6 separate regions of the Homo sapiens genome follow, and all the other regions are linked to region 1. The links are contacts of gene promoters, found by promoter capture Hi-C in blood cells and fetal thymus (Javierre and others, 2016). All regions are on one chromosome and are shown on one strand. The core of a region is centred on a gene start or on the middle of the fragment in contact, and the rest is flanking DNA. Distances in the headings are between cores, read along the strand shown. Region 1 holds the start of NUP155 (nucleoporin 155). Region 2 overlaps SKP2 (S-phase kinase associated protein 2). Region 3 overlaps NADK2 (NAD kinase 2, mitochondrial). Region 4 overlaps RICTOR (RPTOR independent companion of MTOR complex 2). Region 5 overlaps NADK2 (NAD kinase 2, mitochondrial). Region 6 overlaps LMBRD2 (LMBR1 domain containing 2).

What was found. The method cuts DNA at HindIII sites, captures the fragments that hold promoters and counts their contacts. A CHiCAGO score of 5 or more calls a contact.
Region 2: a contact is called between a fragment that was not itself captured here and the fragment with the promoter of NUP155 in region 1, in 8 of 17 cell types (naive CD8 T cells, total B cells, naive B cells and 5 more). The highest score is 8.9, in naive CD8 T cells.
Region 3: a fragment that was not itself captured here is called in contact with the fragment with the promoter of NUP155 in region 1 in 1 of 17 cell types (monocytes); the score reaches 5.4 in monocytes.
Region 4: a fragment that was not itself captured here is called in contact with the fragment with the promoter of NUP155 in region 1 in 2 of 17 cell types (M2 macrophages and total CD4 T cells); the score reaches 6.0 in M2 macrophages.
Region 5: a contact is called between a fragment that was not itself captured here and the fragment with the promoter of NUP155 in region 1, in 6 of 17 cell types (total CD8 T cells, naive CD8 T cells, total CD4 T cells and 3 more). The highest score is 8.8, in total CD8 T cells.
Region 6: a contact is called between a fragment that was not itself captured here and the fragment with the promoter of NUP155 in region 1, in 2 of 17 cell types (monocytes and total B cells). The highest score is 5.6, in monocytes.

The regions. Positions count from the first base shown.
Region 1 is chr5:37,369,612-37,372,762 of GRCh38, forward strand. NUP155 (nucleoporin 155) reads right to left here and starts at 1,495. Exons shown (of 35, transcript NM_153485.3): 1 at 1,210-1,495. The coding sequence starts at 1,366. RefSeq lists enhancers at 1,168-1,277, 1,398-1,487. The HindIII fragment of the contact is 10,669 bases long and covers 1-2,505 here.
Region 2 is chr5:36,158,280-36,161,451 of GRCh38, forward strand. All of the region lies in intron 2 of SKP2 (S-phase kinase associated protein 2), which reads left to right. Among named protein-coding and RNA genes, the nearest start is that of SKP2, 7.8 kb to the left of the region's middle. The HindIII fragment of the contact is 828 bases long and covers 1,221-2,048 here.
Region 3 is chr5:36,217,905-36,220,853 of GRCh38, forward strand. It overlaps NADK2 (NAD kinase 2, mitochondrial), which reads right to left. Exons shown (of 12, transcript NM_001085411.3): 5 at 1,692-1,775. Among named protein-coding and RNA genes, the nearest start is that of NADK2-AS1, 1.7 kb to the right of the region's middle. The HindIII fragment of the contact is 1,601 bases long and covers 722-2,322 here.
Region 4 is chr5:38,943,528-38,946,317 of GRCh38, forward strand. RICTOR (RPTOR independent companion of MTOR complex 2) reads right to left here. Exons shown (of 38, transcript NM_152756.5): 34 at 1,964-2,197; 35 at 1,386-1,541; 36 at 919-1,042. It also overlaps a transcript of OSMR not described here. Among named protein-coding and RNA genes, the nearest start is that of OSMR, 99 kb to the left of the region's middle. The HindIII fragment of the contact is 1,799 bases long and covers 481-2,279 here.
Region 5 is chr5:36,236,932-36,239,703 of GRCh38, forward strand. All of the region lies in intron 1 of NADK2 (NAD kinase 2, mitochondrial), which reads right to left. Among named protein-coding and RNA genes, the nearest start is that of NADK2, 3.6 kb to the right of the region's middle. The HindIII fragment of the contact is 3,457 bases long and covers 1-2,772 here.
Region 6 is chr5:36,139,735-36,142,624 of GRCh38, forward strand. It overlaps LMBRD2 (LMBR1 domain containing 2), which reads right to left. Exons shown (of 18, transcript NM_001007527.2): 3 at 2,768-2,865; 4 at 1,373-1,468. Among named protein-coding and RNA genes, the nearest start is that of MIR580, 6.8 kb to the right of the region's middle. The HindIII fragment of the contact is 1,876 bases long and covers 378-2,253 here.

The sequences.
Region 1 (3,151 bases), core at 245-2,744:
ATAGGCCAATCAGGTATTATAAGACACGCTCATTGGTAAGTAGCTGTAGGGAGCAAATACTATCTTTGTTTCTATCATTTCTTTGATTACAAAGCTATCAATGATTTTTATAAATAATCAGAAGTGTTCTCGGTTTACACTGCACAAATTATCCTATTTAGATTACTTTGGTTCTTGCTCACCAACAATCTTTTCTTTCTTACACTTCGCTGGTTTTCTCCAAATTCCATCTCACAAAGGGGTCACTTTTTCTAGCAACTGATGTAATTCCATAAGCCGTGGGGAGCTGGTTATAACTTAAAACTGTTAAACAAATTACTTTCCAGTCACCTATATTGTCAACACATATTCTGCCTTACTCTCCCTGTACATAAGCACTGTGATTTCCCTGTTCTCTTTCTTTATTCCACTGGTAGTTCTTTTAAGATCCTCCAGCATTTCATAACACACATCTCTACACATAATAAAGCGTTTCTTGGCCGGGTGCAGTGGCTTGCGCCTGTAATCCCAGCACTTTGGGAGGCCGAGGCGGGCGGATCACTTGAGGTCAGAGTTCGTGACCAGCCAGGCCAATATGGTGAAACCCCGTCTCTACTTAAAAAACACAAAAATTAGCCGGGCTTGGTGGCAGGCGCCTGTAATCTCAGCTACTTGGGAGTCTGAGGCAGAAGAATCGCTTGAACCCAGGAGGCGGAGGTTGCAATGAGCCGAGATCGCGCCATTGCACTTCAGCCTGGGCGAAGAGGGAACCGCTCCGTCTCAATAAATAAACAAATAAATATAAAGCAAAGCGTATCTTTAAGATAACATGCTAAATTTCCAAATTAACTTCGTTTGCTCTTACGATCTACTCAAACACTAACAGGAGAAATGAACAAATTTGGGACTTGGATCTGGAGATGCTTCTCATATGGCCTTAGCCATAAGCACTTGAGAGCGGCGAGAAGCTCATTAAGGTTGAGGTCTTTGCCTCTTTCTGCTTCAACTGGGAGCTTGCTCTTCACTCTTGCCCTCTCAAGTATCTACAATGAAGAAAGTGAGGAAAGGAAAAAACCTGAAAAGAAGCTGCTTGCTGTTCTCCAAAAATGCAGCCAACAGTGCCATAAATCTCAGCATATCCTCGCCGGGACCAACGCTGGGGATAAGTAGCAAATTAGGAAGTCAGGCGAGAGTCCTTTAGGTTGAGAAAGCAGGGTCACTATCACTCACTTGGGGCAGACACCATAAGCAGCTCGGAAAGGTCCGGGTACATGCGGTCCTCTTGCAACTGACGGTCGATGAGCCGTCCAGCATTTTCCAGAGCTTCCTGCAGGGCTGCGGCAGATGTAGAGGCCGGCATCGCCGCGCCCAACAAAGAAGACGGCATCTCGGAAATCGTAGACACCAGGGTCCAGAAAAAGTCAAAAACCAAGGAGAAACAAGAAAAGATCCAAGAAGTTAGCTTAGATCCGCCGCCTAGGGCGCGCGCGCCAAACGAGCGCCTTGGCGCCTCGACATGACGCACTTCCGCTTCATCCGGTGGGGAACTGGAAGACGCCGTTCTGGCCTGGGAAGAGGAAGCTGTTGGGAGGGGGCTAGAGGTTGTGGGTGGAGCTAGGAGGCTGCTGATGCTTTCGAGGGGGTTGAGGGTTTTGGGGTGTGGCAGGGTAAAATTAGGGTAGGTTATTTAGGGAAGGGAGGGAGGGAAAGGAAGGGAAGGATAAAGGGGAGGGAACAGGGAAGGAGAGGGGCGGGATGGGGTTGGATAGGGTGAGGAGGAAGGAGGGAGGAGGGATACGGTAGGTGGGAGCTAGGTCGTGTGTCTGGCCTAGGAGGTTGGTCAGGTTCCGTTGGTTTAAGCGCGTGCTCGACCTGAGTCTTGGAACTTCCCGCGTCGGTATCCGCTAACTGCAGCTATATGAGTTCGCGCATGAGCGCGCAGTTTGGTTCTCCAAGTAACTGCTTTTGTGAGAGTAGTTAAGAATTGGTAGGTCGCTGTCACAGAGAGGGATATAAACCAGTATCTCACTATATTCTTCGCGGGCTTCAGTGTAAATTAGAATTCATCAGGCTTTTCCATTTGCGTGTCGCTGTCTTTTGACTTTGTTGCCCCTTAGTATAAAATACGTGTTTAAGAAGAAGCTGAGTGCAGGTGGACCGCTGCCGTGCTTTTTATCGTGGCAGAGATAGCAGACAGTTCTAATTCATCTTTCCATTCCCAGCGCTAGTATAGGAACTCGTATGAGATAGGAACCCAAGAGTTCATACAATCCTAAGAAACTGAATACTTGCCTTGTGCCTGGTGCTGGGACTATCAAACTAACACAGTGTTTCCTGTCCTTAAGGTGCTTCAAGCAGAGACAAAGGGCTTCATTATAATTTTTCTATTTGGATAGGTATAAACTATAGCAGGATAGGAGAAAGCAGAGAGGTAAAAGAGGCTTCATTTACTACAGAAGGCAACCTGAGTGGGTAAATCAAAGCACTTTTTAGAAAGCTGCTCTTATTTAGAATCTCACCTAAGAAAGCTTCCAGTTATGTTCTTCAGAATTTCACAAATCAATAACTGAATTACTCTAAATTGGTCTTTTGCTATTTGAATTACATTTTTACTCCCTCAAAGACTTGACTACATTTCTGAAAATTGAAAGTTCTTTGATGTTACCAATCTACACTTAAAATTTGACATAGCCAATATACCAAGAAAAACTGGATTTTTTATCATTGGTATATAGATAGGCAGTTGGGTCTCTAGCTGTGAGTTTACTTTATTTGGTAGACCATAGATTGAAAAGTGGTGGTCTGGCACCGAGTTTGTTTTTAATTTGAGACAAAATACACAAAGTTTTCAACTCCATAAATTGGAAGATTCAACAACGTTGCTGTGATATTCCTGCATAGAAGTAAAGCTCCCCAAAGTGTAATCTAACTAACTTAATTCATTGGCATATTGCCTATGCTTTCCCACTACAACTGCTAAACCGAGTAATTTCTACAAAAGACTGCAAAGCCTTAAATACGGACTCTGGCACTTTACAGGAAAAGTTTGCTGACCTCTTCCCTAGAACAGATAATTATGAATTTTTTTGGTCTTAGGACCCCCTTGATACCCTTAAAAATTATTCAGGATTCCAGAGAGTTTTTGTTTCATGTTGGTTACATCTATTAATAT
Region 2 (3,172 bases), core at 385-2,884, 1.2 Mb before region 1:
CATGAATTCAGGAAACAGATGGCTAATGTTTTGAGAATTAAATATGGCAAGGAAAATTAGATTAAGCATATCACAGCCTGGATGCCTATTGCTAGAGCAGCTATTAAAGACAAACTTCTGCCCCATCTGCTGGGACAGCAGCCCATATCAGGCTGTGGTACCCCCACCCGGGGCCCCTAGGATTAGTGTCATTCTGTGGTCAGCTGAGTAAGAGCACTGGGTACTTGGCTGCTAGCTGAGTATGTGTGTTTTCTAGGACCTTGCTCCTTCCATTTGGTGGTGAACCCATTGATAGCATCTTTGTTTTATTTTCTCTCTCCTCCTCCACTCACTCCCTAGCCCTGATTGATTTCTGTTTCCATAGCAAGTCCGGGTTTAATTCTCACCTTTTCAAAATTTGTACTTACAACAGAGGAGAGCATAGAATATTAGAACCCACTAGGATGGAAAGGGCATGATTTGAAATCAGACCTGAGTTTAAATTCCCCCTCTGCCACTTACTGATTGTGTGACCTTGTCTCTTTTATCATAGTTGCATGTTTTCTTGAAGCCCCAGCCCCCATCTCCCAGAGACTACAGCTATACTGATAGAGGACATTCCCTTCTGCTCTGGGTTTTTGTCTTCAGCCTCATCCCCTCCATATGCCAACAGTGCTGTGCACATAGTCGTTAATTGGTTAATAAGGGTTAGCCATTCACACTAATAAAGAATTAGCACATTCACCATTTGAATGAAGAGGGCTAATAAATACATTTGGCAAATATTTATAGAGTCCTGTTATGTGCCAGGCATTGTTAGGTAATGGATGTGCAAATCTGGGCATGGGGCCTGTGGTGGTATCCTGGGTGGGAATGCTTCTTTGAGCAGGTGCCATTTAAGCTGAAATCTGGAGGAGTTGGGAAGGCAAAGATGGAAGTTGCAACACAAAGTCCTCCAGACTTTGGAGTCTCACATGCAGTCTTCATTGGTTAGGTCTACTGACCTCTGCATTCATCACTATGCCAGATTTTCCTCTAGCACTTTAATTACCTGGCTGCTACTGCTCTTTTAATTGGTCCTGATTTCTTATGTCTTCCTAATAGAAAGCACCAAGTTTGTTAATTTATTTCTCCTGCCCTGTACTTCATAGCAAGCTTTTCTAATTTCCTTTCCCCAGCCATAATTTCTGTTGGTGCCCTATCTATAGCCCCTTGAAGCCCCCCATTCCCTTACATGCCAAAGCTTTTGCCTACGTGTAGATGAGATTCCATGCCTGAGGGCTTTCTCTGGGCAGGAATACTGGGGAGTCCCCAAATAGTGACCAACAGCAATTGATGGATTAATACCCCAGCACTCGTGCCCTTGGTTGAGACAGCTCTGGGGTAGTTTCTAGATGGTTTACTGGAGTCCCCAGAAGATTTGAACCCCAATTGCCCATAGGGATAACCTGCCTATTAGCCTACTCCAGGTTGGCTTTCTTCCCTTCCACCTCTGTCTTCTCCACTCTTTCTAGTGCTTCCTGGCATCACTTCCCAAATAAACTACTTGAAGTCAGAGCTTCAGAATCTGCTTCTGGGGGACCCAAACTTAAATAAAGGGCAGATACGGGGTTTTGGTAAGTCATACCATGCAGACCTTGTCCAGTGTCTGCCCATGGGTGAAAATTCAGAGCAGCACTGAAAAGGTCATTGCATGAAGAAAATACCCAGACTTAACTGGGAAAGGAGAGGAATATAGAAAAGAAAGTTTTACTCCCTGCTGCATTATTTAATCTTTTCTTGTACCTCATTTACTCTTCACTGAACAATTTTGCAAGATAAATCTGTCAATTTCCTTTCCTGCAGGTAAAGAAACTGAGGCCAGAAAGATTAAGTAACTTGCCCAAGTTCACAGACTTGGGGCAACACAGCCAGGATTCTGATAGAAACTGTGCTGCTTTCTCAGTCCAGTAGTCCTCAAATGTGTTGAGGAGGCCCAGCGTATGGTGTCAGTATGATTTTTACAGATTATAGTAAAATCTCAACATATTAGATTCAAAATAGCTAAGTATGTTATTGAAGTATAGTTAAGCTTACTCTTCCATAGAGGCCACTTCCTCCAGGAAGGCTTCCTTAACCTCTGCACCATTCCCATGTGCTGCACAGCACCCTGAATCCTGCTGTAGCCCATCAGGATAGTTTATTGAAATTTCCTGTTTAATTGTTTGTCTGTATCTCTCAAACTCAGAGTAGAATAAGGGTCAGGATTGTACCTTACTTATTGTTGTGGCCCAAAACCTAGAACAGACCTCAGTGTATATAGTACATGGTTAATAAATACGTGAGTGGATGACTATACTTATAGCTAAATATAGTTATGCCCAATCAATTACTAGATTCTGATCTAGATATGTAAGAGGCAGCAGAGGTCTGAGAGAGTTGGATTAATGGGAGAAAAACTTGAGAAAAGCCTGTCATTCAACTTTGTTTTCAATTTGGGGAGCAGGGCAAGAGCCTGGTTTGAGAACCTTTGTCCCCTGCCCATGTTGACTTTGGAGGAACTTTGTGGCAGTGATGGAACAGCTGCCACGTCGAGGAGCCTCCTCACAACCTCCAGCTGCCTCCCCAGATCAGCAGGGGTGATCTGCCTTCAGCTTTCTACCCCTAGCTTTCAGGGCCTCAGTCAGTCCTTTAATTTTGTCCCCTGAAGGGCGTGAGGCTAGGGGAACAGGCATTCATTGAACAACTGTGTATCTCCTACTCATTCTTCAAGAGAGGCCACTTCCTCCAGAAAGGCTTCCCTAACCCCTGCGCCATTCCCATAAGCTGCACAGCACCCCGAATCCTACTGTAGCCCATCAGGATAGGTTATTGAAGTTTCCTGTTTGTCTATATCTCTCAAACTCTGAGCAGAATAAGGGTCAGGATTGTGCCTTATTTATCATTGTGTCCTTAAAACCTAGAATAGACCTCAGTGTATAGTACATATTTTATAAATATGGGAGTGGATGAATGTATCAATTTTATGCTAGTTCCTGAAAATACAAAAATTGTTAAAAAAAAAAAAAAAAGCGTTTTTGTTTCTCAAGAGCTCCTGGGGGTCTAGAGAGATGAGTAAGTAAATAATGAAATTATGGTACATAAGTGGCCTGTCCTTGTTGATGTCACGGGAGGCCTTCTGTGGGAACTGGGGCTTCCATTTGATTTTAAATGA
Region 3 (2,949 bases), core at 272-2,771, 1.2 Mb before region 1:
GCAAATTATGTTAAAATAGAATAAATTAAAGAGTAGACATTATAATAATTTAACCAAATTAAATAGTTAATAAAAACTAGTTACCAGTTATTCCATGAATAAATTATATCAGAAACACCTAAAGCCTATAGCTTCCTTATCAATGACAGATTTGAATATTTATTCTCTTTTCAATTATAACGGAAACACCTAATGTGCTTGTACAAAATCTCCCAAGTAACTTAAATTAAGTCAAACTCTATCAAGAACCCATAAAGTCCAAGATACTGAGCTAGATATAGCTTGTGCTTTGCTCAGCAAAAAATATTATACAAAAAGGAAAGCATTCTTAAATTAAAATAATATTGTGTTCAGATGGCTGGATTAGATAAAAATCCCTCTCCACAAATTTTATAATGGAGGTTTTTTAAAACAATAAAAGGAAAAAAGGATTAAGAAACAATAAATAAAAGTGTTGATTACACCTAAAAATTTAAATAACATCTCTGGTAAAAGGAAAAAAACAATCAGGTTTAATTGATTTCAAAACTGATAATCAATGTATCGAAAGTCAATGGGACAGATTCTGCTAGGTAAGTATACAAAAATATACTTCCACTTGGTAGCTATAAATTAGCCATTTCTTGTCAAACTTCTGAAATGACTAGAAACTAGAATTACTGGTAATGAAATGATTCTTGAAAAGAAGATCTAATACAACTTCACAAACATCTGTGGGAAAAGCTTTCCCCAACTATAAAATCTAGTCCAAGTCAGGAAATAAAAAGTAGTCCAACTTAGCTCTCTCAAATATAATTGGCCAACCTCATGCTCCTTCCTCCACCTTCCTCTTTTCCTGATGGTCTGACCACTGAACACATTAAGTAAAAGAAACTTTTAAAAATCCCATCCCCACTGCTTAAGAAATACTTTTATGTGAGACAGATACCAGGAATCTCAGCATGGTTGGATTAAATCCAGCTCTCAATCATTACTAGATGGGAGATAAAGATAAAAAATATAAAATCTGAAAATTCAAACAATTTTAGCCAAAGTTTTAATTACCTTTCCACTAAACTGATAAGGACATGTAACGAGGTTAAGAAAGTAGAGACATGCCTGCTATCTCACTGAAGGAGAAAAAAAATTTCTATATGCAGTTATATTATAGGCCAACCAATATTTGTCAGGGTTTCTCTCCACAATTCCAACTGGACTAGGAGAAGGTAAATTAGACCTATTTGTGACTCAGCTAATACATTACTTTTAATGGCTACTGTTATATCTATGGAGTAATCCAAACATTATCTGATTTGTTCTGGTTTTTTGTGTGTTTGTTTGTTTTGAGACACAGTCTCACTCTGTTACCCAGGCTGGAGTGCAGTGGCATGATCTCGGCTCACTGGAACCTCTACCTCCTGGGCTCAAGTGATCCTCTCAACTCAGCCCCGCAAGTAGCTGGGACTACAGGTGCTTGCCACCATGCCCAGCTAACTTCTGTATTTTTTGTAGAAACAAGGTTTCACCATGTTGCCCAGGCTGGTCTCAAACTCCTGAGCTCAAGTGATCCACCCGCATCGGCCTCCCAAAGTACTGGGATTACAGGCGTGAGATACCGTGCCCTGCCTGATTTGTTCTGTTTTTTAACAGCATTATTAATGGCACATACTTATTAAGATACTTACATAAGAACAACCGTAAGAAATTCCTACCTGAACTCACCACGATAGAACTTCTGTAAGGCTTCTGGAAAGGAATGTGTATATCGAACGGGCAGGCATAAATGACCCTCAGACCTATATTTTAACAGGAATTTTTTGGTGATATAAAGAGGAAAAGAAAAAAGGTGAAGCAAAAAAATTTAATCAAAAGGTATCACTAAGCTATAAAAATAAGAAATGAAATTCTAAAAATGTCTACCCTATATTCCATTTTTTGCCACAAAATTGTGTTCTTTAAATAAAAACAAAAAAGACCAGATAGAATTAGTAGTCTACATCCAGCTTTAATGCCATAATACATAATAATATGTGAGTTTCTACGTTACAATGAAACTAAAAATAGCAGCAAATCTGCTACTAATTACCCTGTAAAGTTATTTAATGGTACAGTGTTGTTCAAATCATTATTTAACTACTAACCTTCCAATTTTTATTCTAACCTTTAAATTATTTAACTATTAACTTTGGGCAAGTCACTTTAGCATCAGCTTCCTCATCTCCAAAATCAGGATAAACCAGCAATCTCAAAAGGAATCAAAATATTTATGTGAAATGTTTTGAACCATAATCCTTTCTGAAATGTCATTTAAGATATCCTAAGTCACTAAAAAAGAACTGAGAAAGCTTAATCCAATGTAATCCTTCATTTATTCAAAAATACATAAATAATGAAACTCCTTTAAGGAGTTCATAGCTTGATGTGGAAGACAAATTAAAACAAACCATTGCAAATTATAAGGTGGTAAGATTGCCTATTGGTTGGTGTAGATGAGAGTATGTGGCACCTAAAGATGTCCAGAAGGCTCAGTCATCATCATTTAATGATACTCCAATCTTGAAGAAAAGGCTGAGGGTAGGCTTAGCAAAACAAACTCCTGATAATAAATGTAAATCAACTTGTAAGCGTGAAGGGCACAGAAAAGTGTTTTTACAAAGTTGTGAATAGTCAACTTCTTTATCTAAGCAGGTCAACACTGAGGTTAAGAAAGCGTAAGGCCTAGGTTTTTAAATTTTTATATTCATTGTAATAGTTCACACAATGTTAAGTATATAAAAGGTATCAACAGTCATTTGATAGAATAATACCTGCTGAGGTCAACTGCAAGTCTAAAACCCTTGCAGAGAGAAGACTTTCTCATGAGGTTACAGTCAGATATCAGCTAGGGCGGCAGGCATCTGAAGGCTTGACTTGGACTAGCACGACCACTTCCAGGGTTGCTCACTCACATGGCTGGCAAATTGGTGCTGG
Region 4 (2,790 bases), core at 130-2,629, 1.6 Mb after region 1:
AGCTGGCTGGGCACGGTGGCTCATGCCTGTAATCCCAGCACTTTGGGAGGCTGAGACAGGAGATCACCTGAGGTCAGGAGTTTGAGACCAACCTGGCTAACCTGGCGAAACTCTGTTTCTACTAAAAATACAAAAATTAGCTAGGTGTGGTGGTACACACCTGTAATCCCAGCTACTTGGGAGGCTGAGGCAGGAGGATTGCTTGAACCCGGGAGGCAGAGGTTGCAGTGAGCCGAGATTGCACCACTGCACTCCAGCCTGGGTGACAGAGCAAGACTCCGTCTCAAAAAAGAAATACAAAATACAAAATAAAAAAGCCCTGCAGGAGACCCTGAGGTGCATTTCTTTTAAGAACCACTGCTTTAAATAATAAGAAAAAAATTAAACCAAGAAAATATGACTTGTTACATGTAAGCCCACTTTCCTCAAACTTTTTGGTCTCAGGACTTACTTTCTTAAAAATTACTGAAGACCCAAAAAAGCTTATTTTTGTGTGGGTTACAGCCACCATTAACTACTATATTAGAAATTAAAATTGAGAGAATTTCCTAACATGCATTAATTTATTTTAAAAATAAATCCATTACATGTTAACATGTATTTTAATAAAAATAACTGTATTTTCCAAAAGTAAAAAAGTGAGAAGAGTGGCATTATTTTACATTTTTTGCAGATCTCTTCAAAAGTCTGGCTTAATAGAAGATAGCTGGATTCTCATACTTGCTTCTACATTCAATCTGTTGCCATATGTTGTTTTGGCTGAAGTATTAAAGAAAATCTAGCCTCACACAGGTATGCAATGCAGTTTAGAACTACTGATGTAAGTTAACTAGCCTAACTTTTGAAGTATTTCAAGTATCTTTTCTCGACTTAAAAAACAGAATAAACAAATAATACTCATGCACATAGTTTACTCACGTTAAAAGCCCAGTCTCATGACATTTAGTTGAAACTGAACTACTCAAATTAATGACTAATCTTAGAACTTCTTTGCGAAGGAGTATACGGCACATTGGTGTATCATCTGGAATTGTTTTAACACCTGAAAAGATTTCAGGGAGAAGTTAAATATTATCTATGTCACAATAAAATGATTAAAACTCATGAAATTTATTTTTAAACTTCACCTAAAGACCTAGAGATCAATTACACATGATCTACCAATCATTTTGGGAGCAAAACTCTAATAAAAGCAGATAGCTAAGAGGCTCTATGTCAGTGGGTGATATAGGTGCAATAATTAACAGTGTTAAATTGCTTCACTAAAATGGACGTATTACTGTTTTGAGACAACTTTAATTTACAGTATTTACGAAAAACAAAACAAAACCAACTAATCAGAACAGTTTTACTAATAATGATTGGATTTGAATCTGAAGACTCACCTAGTAACAATTCTGTGCTTTTGGTGCTGCTAGCTGAGCCTTCTTGAGACACCCCATCACTGCATCCAGAAATCCCCGAAAACTTAGAGGGAACCACTTCTAAAGGATTATGGATAGTCTGCTCACACCAATCAGAATATGGAATATCTTGAAAGTCTGAAGAAAAAAATAATTATTTCAATTAAAGCACCATAACGGCTTAATTCCTGTGCTTACATTGCATGCTAAAAAGAAATAATATAAAATAACATCTTCTCTAATTGTATGCAATATACCAAACACTTCCAAAACTTTTTTCCTCATAGAAAATGAAAATAACTACAGCATGCAAAGGGCCTGGACAGGGCTGTTCACAGTGGAAAAGACCTAATCCAGGGATCTGTCAGACTCAGGCCCCACTGTGACCTGGAACCGTGAGAGGATCAGCATCTCAGCATAACATAATTTGGCATATCAGTGTGCTGCAGCTCACCAGCTGGGAAACTCTGAATTAGAATACCAAAAAGAAATTTGGAAAAGTAAACCAGAGAACTTTAGTCATCACTAGGTTTTTCTGAAGGTGGGACGTGATCACTTACCTGAATGACTACATATTGCACTCAGTTGGTTGCTGGGCTGGAAACCCAGAATTTCAATACAGACACAATAAAGGCAGTTATCATCTGTATGTTCCTGTAGTCCAGTGTCTTCTGTACTTTCTAAAAACAGAGAGGCATCTGAATGGATTGAATTCATTATTTCCGTAAGACTCATCTGCTGTCGTAGCAAGTGAAAAGAATTTTTTACAAGACCTCCAGTTCCAGATGGAAGACCTGTGCATAAGTAAATATAAAACATAATCCAATAAAGATAATACTTTTCAAGGTACCTTAAATTATGTGAAATTTTAAAGAAAGCTTAAGCACATTTTATGACTCAAAATCTAACTGGAAAGAAAAAAAGAATAATTTGCTTTAAGTTATAAAAATAAGGAAAGCCAGCAGATGTTTATTATTTTAATATATAGTGTTTTAAATACAAAATGGAAAATTGAGATTATATAATACATCATTTCAATTATCGTCAATATTTGCCTAAAGATATGTAATAATTCTAAGTATAAAGAGGCATTTGTTTAAAAAGTCATTAAGAATATAAAGCTATAAAACCTGTGGCTTATATTTACATATTAAAATATAACAGTTCAAAACAAAGACCGTGTATTTTATAAGTACATTTCTTTCTCCTTACTCTAAACAAACAGCTATTTCCTGGATCTATGAGGATTAGTGTTATACATTGTTCATGTGCTACTTTTAAAAAACAGAAACAACTAATTTGGTTTCTATTTCCTTGAAAGGTTGAGTACTTCACTGAAAACACTGTTAAGTCCCTCACACATACACAAAAATGTGGTTTAATTTTA
Region 5 (2,772 bases), core at 69-2,568, 1.1 Mb before region 1:
TACAAAAGTAGACACATAGACACTGAGAGATGCAAATTCAACCACCCTGAAATACCATCTTTCACCCACCAGGTTGGCAAAGACCCAACAATTTAATGAACTATGTATGGAAAAATAAGTCCCCTTATACAGGGCTGGTGAAAGTAAAAATCTGTATAATCTCTAAGGGAAGCAATTTGGCCAAATCTGTTAAAACTTTATATGCACAAGGCTTTTGACTCAACAATTTCAACTTTAGGTATTTGTCTTAGAGCTTGATTTACATGCATATAAACACAAATGTTATTCATTTCAGAATGTGTTTAATAGCAGAAGATAAATTAGGACACAAAATAAAGTAACATACATACTATTTTTAAAAAGAATGGGAATGTTCTTTATGACAATCTCCACAAATGCTGTTAGGCTAAAAAAAAAGGCACATAATAGCTTAAATAGTATATTATCATTGAATAAAAAGAGATGAGGCAAAGAAAAAGAATATTTCACTGTGCTGATTTGTAGGTATAGGTTGCTTCTGGAAGAAAACACAAGAAATTGATAACAGTTACTTCCAGGGACAAAACTGAATGACAAATGACAAGTAACAGAAAGACTTCTTTGTATAATATTTTGTATCTTTTATATTTTGAATCATTTTATGTGCTACTGATCCATAAATTAAACTAAATCAGTACAACATCTAATGGAAATTAACACAGTTTGAAATTGCTAGAATATGAAATTTAAGACAAGAAGTGATCAGAAGTGAAGCTCAAGAGATAGCCAGTTCATGAAGGGACTTATCTGCCATTCTAAAGATCATGAACTTGAGCCCACAACTGTGTTTCTCAGTTTAACTGGGGACCACATGCCAACCAGGGATAAAACACATCCCTGGAATTCAGCCGGAGTCATTAATTTCAGGTGTGTGCTTCATAAAACCAAAGTCTGGGAATTCTCCACAAACTGAGTCAGAGTCTTGCGGGGCTAAGGTTCAGGTGTCTGCATTTTAACAAGTACTCTTGGTGACTAAAGGGTACAGGGAGCTTCTGTGGAGTTCCAAGCAAAAGAGAGAAAGGGCCAGATGTTCACTTTAGATAGACACTCTGGTAACTGTGTCTAGAAGATTTGAGAGGAGCAAGGATTCAGTTAGAAAGCTCTGGCAGTACTCCAAATCATGCTCTTTAATTTGATTAACAATCATATTGTATGTAATATACTTATTGCATACAATGTAGCAAAAGTATACCACCTGACAAAAGTATACCATGGTACGCTTATTGCATACCCTGTGGCAAAAGTATTATCTGCCCAAGTGCTACAACCTAAGCCACAAAATCTTCAGAAAACAAAAGGGAAATCCAAGGTGCTACACCTTCCAAGTCATCTAGTTTAATCCAATAACACGGCAGACTGTTAAATGAAATTATTCTATCCCATTATGAATTTTAAAAAACAAAACTAAAAATAGGAACCAGTAAAAGGGTTGCCGAGTTGTGAGACCTGGAATGATGGAGAGGAGGGCAGAAACTGCTGACTTCTTATTTGTTCTACATTAAAATTTTTTTTCCTTATTCAGTTCCCCATCCCTGGTGACAGGTGAAAAAGAGCTTTAAATAAAACCTTTTTTTGACCAATGAGGTATGTTTCTGGTGTCAAAATCCTTTCCAAGTCAGTTTTGTTTCATCTAGAGTTCTAATTTGTGTCAAGGACCCTGTTAATAGCAATTGCACATTTGCCAACAGCTACATCTCTTAATGATGCAAGTAAATTGTAATAATAGTTTTACTGGCCTTTGAAAGGTCATGAGACAGTAGAGGTAAAATGTTTGACCAGAAATCTGATATCACAAAATAAGTCACTGGTCAATCAATGGGGAAAAAGACAAGATTTTAAAATAAAGCAATGTAACCAATATGAAACGGTAAATAAAAGTCAAAACTTTGACTAGCTTGAAGGTTGTAAACCTATTCTGTGCATGCCTTATCAACTAAAAAATATTTCCTGTAATTGTTTACATTTCTACAAAGTTAGAAAATCATCAGCCTTCAGGGTATAAAATTATACTGGCACTCTATCCTTCATCTTCCATTTGCATTTTAACAAATAGCCTAAAACAGACCTGTTTTACATCAAAAAACCACCACCACGACAACAAAAGAGAATGCTTTGACAAAAAACCAAGTTACCATGACACTATAGACACAGCAGCCATGGTGAGACTCAAGCACTTGGCCACTTTCTTTTATATCCATCCAATTCACATGATTCACATAACTTAGTATTTTCTACCCCAGCAATATAACAAATAATACTTATCATCTTATCACTCCTATTACAGAATCCCATTTTAGGACAGCTTCACACAGCCCAGTATTCTTTGGCCTGTTAATAATCTCTCATCTGGTCTACAACTAATGCTATTGCATTCTGAGTATGGGCCTTTATATAAACTATAACACAAATTCAAATCAGTAAGGAACTTATCCAATAAAACTGTAATGACAACACCACCAACAAAAACTATTCCACTGCCTGGCAATTACAAAACTGTGTATTCTACAGCCCACGAGTTTTACTTCAAAGCTGGCTTATCCCAAACAGCATTACCTAGCAATAGACAAATATTTACCTATTAGAGATTTCTCCACTCAGAACGGGTACACTTAGGTAGTTTGACTTTTTAAGACTTATTGATTTTCCCTACATTTTAAAAGTTTTTTTATTAAGTGGTAATCTAGTTCAGAGGTCCAAGAGTTAATCCTAACTGAGATGCCACCCATTTTCTTG
Region 6 (2,890 bases), core at 66-2,565, 1.2 Mb before region 1:
GGAGCTACCCACTCTGGGGCTCCTCTCCACTGAGAGCTATACTTGTCAGGACAACCTGCCTGCAGAAAGGAGCTATCCACTTTGGGTCTCCTGAGAGTTGTACTATCACTCAATAAAGCACCTCTTCACCTTGCTCACCCTCCAGTTGTCTGCATACCTCATTCTTCCTGGATGTAGGACAAGAACTCAGGACCTGCTGAATGGCAGAACTGAAGGAGCTGAAACACAAACAGGGCTGAAACATGGCCCTGCCACTTGCCATGTTGCAGGTGACGAGAAGAGAAGAGCTGTGGCCCTTCCAGGAGCCCAGATCTAGGGGCTCCCCAAGCTAGGGCTGTGACACCCTCTTTGGAGCTCTGAGGTTTCTGGCATCTCCAAGCTTCTGGGTACCACCACATTCCTCTCATCCAGATGCAGGTGCCCACAGCAGAAGCTGCTTGCAGTGCATCTGACCCAGCCACAGGCTTTCACAGAGCCGACACCTGTGCCGATGCCTGGAGCTGCCCACCCTGCCACAGCAGCCAGCGTGTCTGGCTGTGCTCAGTGGCTGGATCCCATGCTCACTCACTCACACACCCCTCACCACTCCATGCCTGGCTCGCCCTTGGGAGTCATGAGATCAGAGCCAGGAGCATGAGCTAAGTGCAACCTGCCAGGCTGAGTAAGCGGAATAAGCCCAGCGGGCCTGAGTAAAATTCAGGCAAAGGTGCTACTGGCCATAGAGGTTTCCAGCTGGCAAAACAACACCCCTAAGGATCCTGTGACAGAAGTATTGGCTTTAACAAGCATGACTCTTCCATCTTTGGAGGGGAAAGAAAAAAAGATGGGTAGGTATGTAGATTTGTTGGTGAGAAGCTGAAAGAGCTGCCGTCTGATGACTCCTGTTTTAACTGCTGGATGGAAAGTAGTCATCTGCTAAGAGGCTAAGAGTAAAGATGATTTTGTTGTTGTTGTTAGGGAGCACAAGAGAGAAAGCCATAAAGAGGACGGAAGTTTGAAGTGAATGGAAATATTTCTTGTAGAAAATGGAAAGAAAGCAAACTAAAAAAAACAAAGAAGGAAAGTCTGGCAATGTTGAGAGCCCAGTTGAATTTAATAGACATGACTTTACAAAAGCACTACTCTGCTATGTAATTTTTCTCTTGCAATGTTCAGTGCCTCCAGTTTTAGAGTGCAGTTGTTTGCAGATCTAAGAGATGCTTAGTAGACAGTGGATAACTATGAGTTTGGAGCACAGCAGAAAGATAAAAATAATGGGTAGAAAGATTCAGAATGCATATGACACATAAATAAATTCCAAACTATATTGATTGAAAAACATTTTATTCCTTTAGCCAAAATTTTAAAAATTTTATCATTTACTGTAACTTACCATGTTAAAAATTGTGACGTCCAATACACTACCCTCCAGAAAATTGGCATGATTCCATCAGGAATGTAACTCCATGGCTTGAAACAAGGATGCTGGCTGTTGAATAAAAAGTTAAAGCCAACTAATCATAAATGACTACTTAAATGAATTATACAATTAATTTGCATGTGGCCAAGTTAATTTACATTCAGATTTTAAATTACTGACTCTAATAATCAATAACCCATAAAATTTCAAAGAAATTTTAAAATTCAAAGCTGACTGCCAAACTAAAAAAACACACAAAAGCAACAAAATAGATTGTTCTGAAAATGTCATTTAAGTTTTCAACTTTCAGTGTATTTTTAGTCATTGGGTAAAAAGAAAACTTAATGTTCAACTAATAGACTAAAAGTGCAACAATCATTAAAAGCAAATGTATTATGAAATAAAATTTCTAATGATTACCTTTAAAATACACAATCCATTTATAGGTTGGGTTTTTTTTTTTTCAGGTTATAGGGGTTGGGAGGGGAAAACATTAGGTAATTAATTCCTGAAAATTGTAATGCTAATTAAATCACTCACTATAACATAGCTTCTATGGAGATGCATGCTAGCAATTATACATAATTCTGTTTAAATTTTTGAAGACATGATGAGTCTCTGATCATAAATTCTGCCATGGAGCCATATTCCTAAGCTAGAAGGATATCCCAAGAACTTGCAACAATCTGTAGCTGCTGCTGATCTTTATCCAGTTTTTTTAATAGTGCTTCAAATGGAAGTAACACCTGCATTTTAAATTTACCTTTTCTGAAGTTAGATTTTTTAAAAATATGCATAAAGAAGCATGCAAATACTACTGAAAGCATTCATAAAGGCTATAGTCAACATATATAAGCTTTTTACTTAAAAGTTCGATATGAATTCAATATAATCTTTGGACAATTTGAACTTTATTAATTTTTTATGTAAATCTATAATGCTTTTGAAGGATGTGCAATATGAAAGGAATACCATAAGTTCAGAAATACTTGTCTTTATTATAACCTTGTAAATTAGGCAAAAGTGAAAATACATCCCACGTTTTTAAATCTGAGATAGGCTGAGAGGAAAAACAGGTTTTAGAAATTACATACTTGGTAAAGAAGAACCAGGACTAAAAAATCAGGACTTCTTCAAGTTTCTCACTACCGTCTACTGAAGGGCTTTGTGGACCAATAAATATTAAAAATTAGATTTAATTAGAATATGATGTAATGAAAAGTCTACTAGGAAAGAATAGAGGTGGGGAGAATTAGTAGAGAATGAGGATAACTTACATAAATATAAAGTCTGGATGGTAAAAACTTTCAATTTTTAAACAATGTGTCCCCTACAATGTTTATATATTTTTTTTAAAAAAGGAAATACCTTGGAACAGGGTTAGCAGTTGCGTACAATCCTGTAATGTTGCTATTCTCAGGAGGGCTTGAATTTGCAGCAGCATGCTTGCACCGGTTGTATATTGTCTAAAGCAACGAATGTATGGTTTAA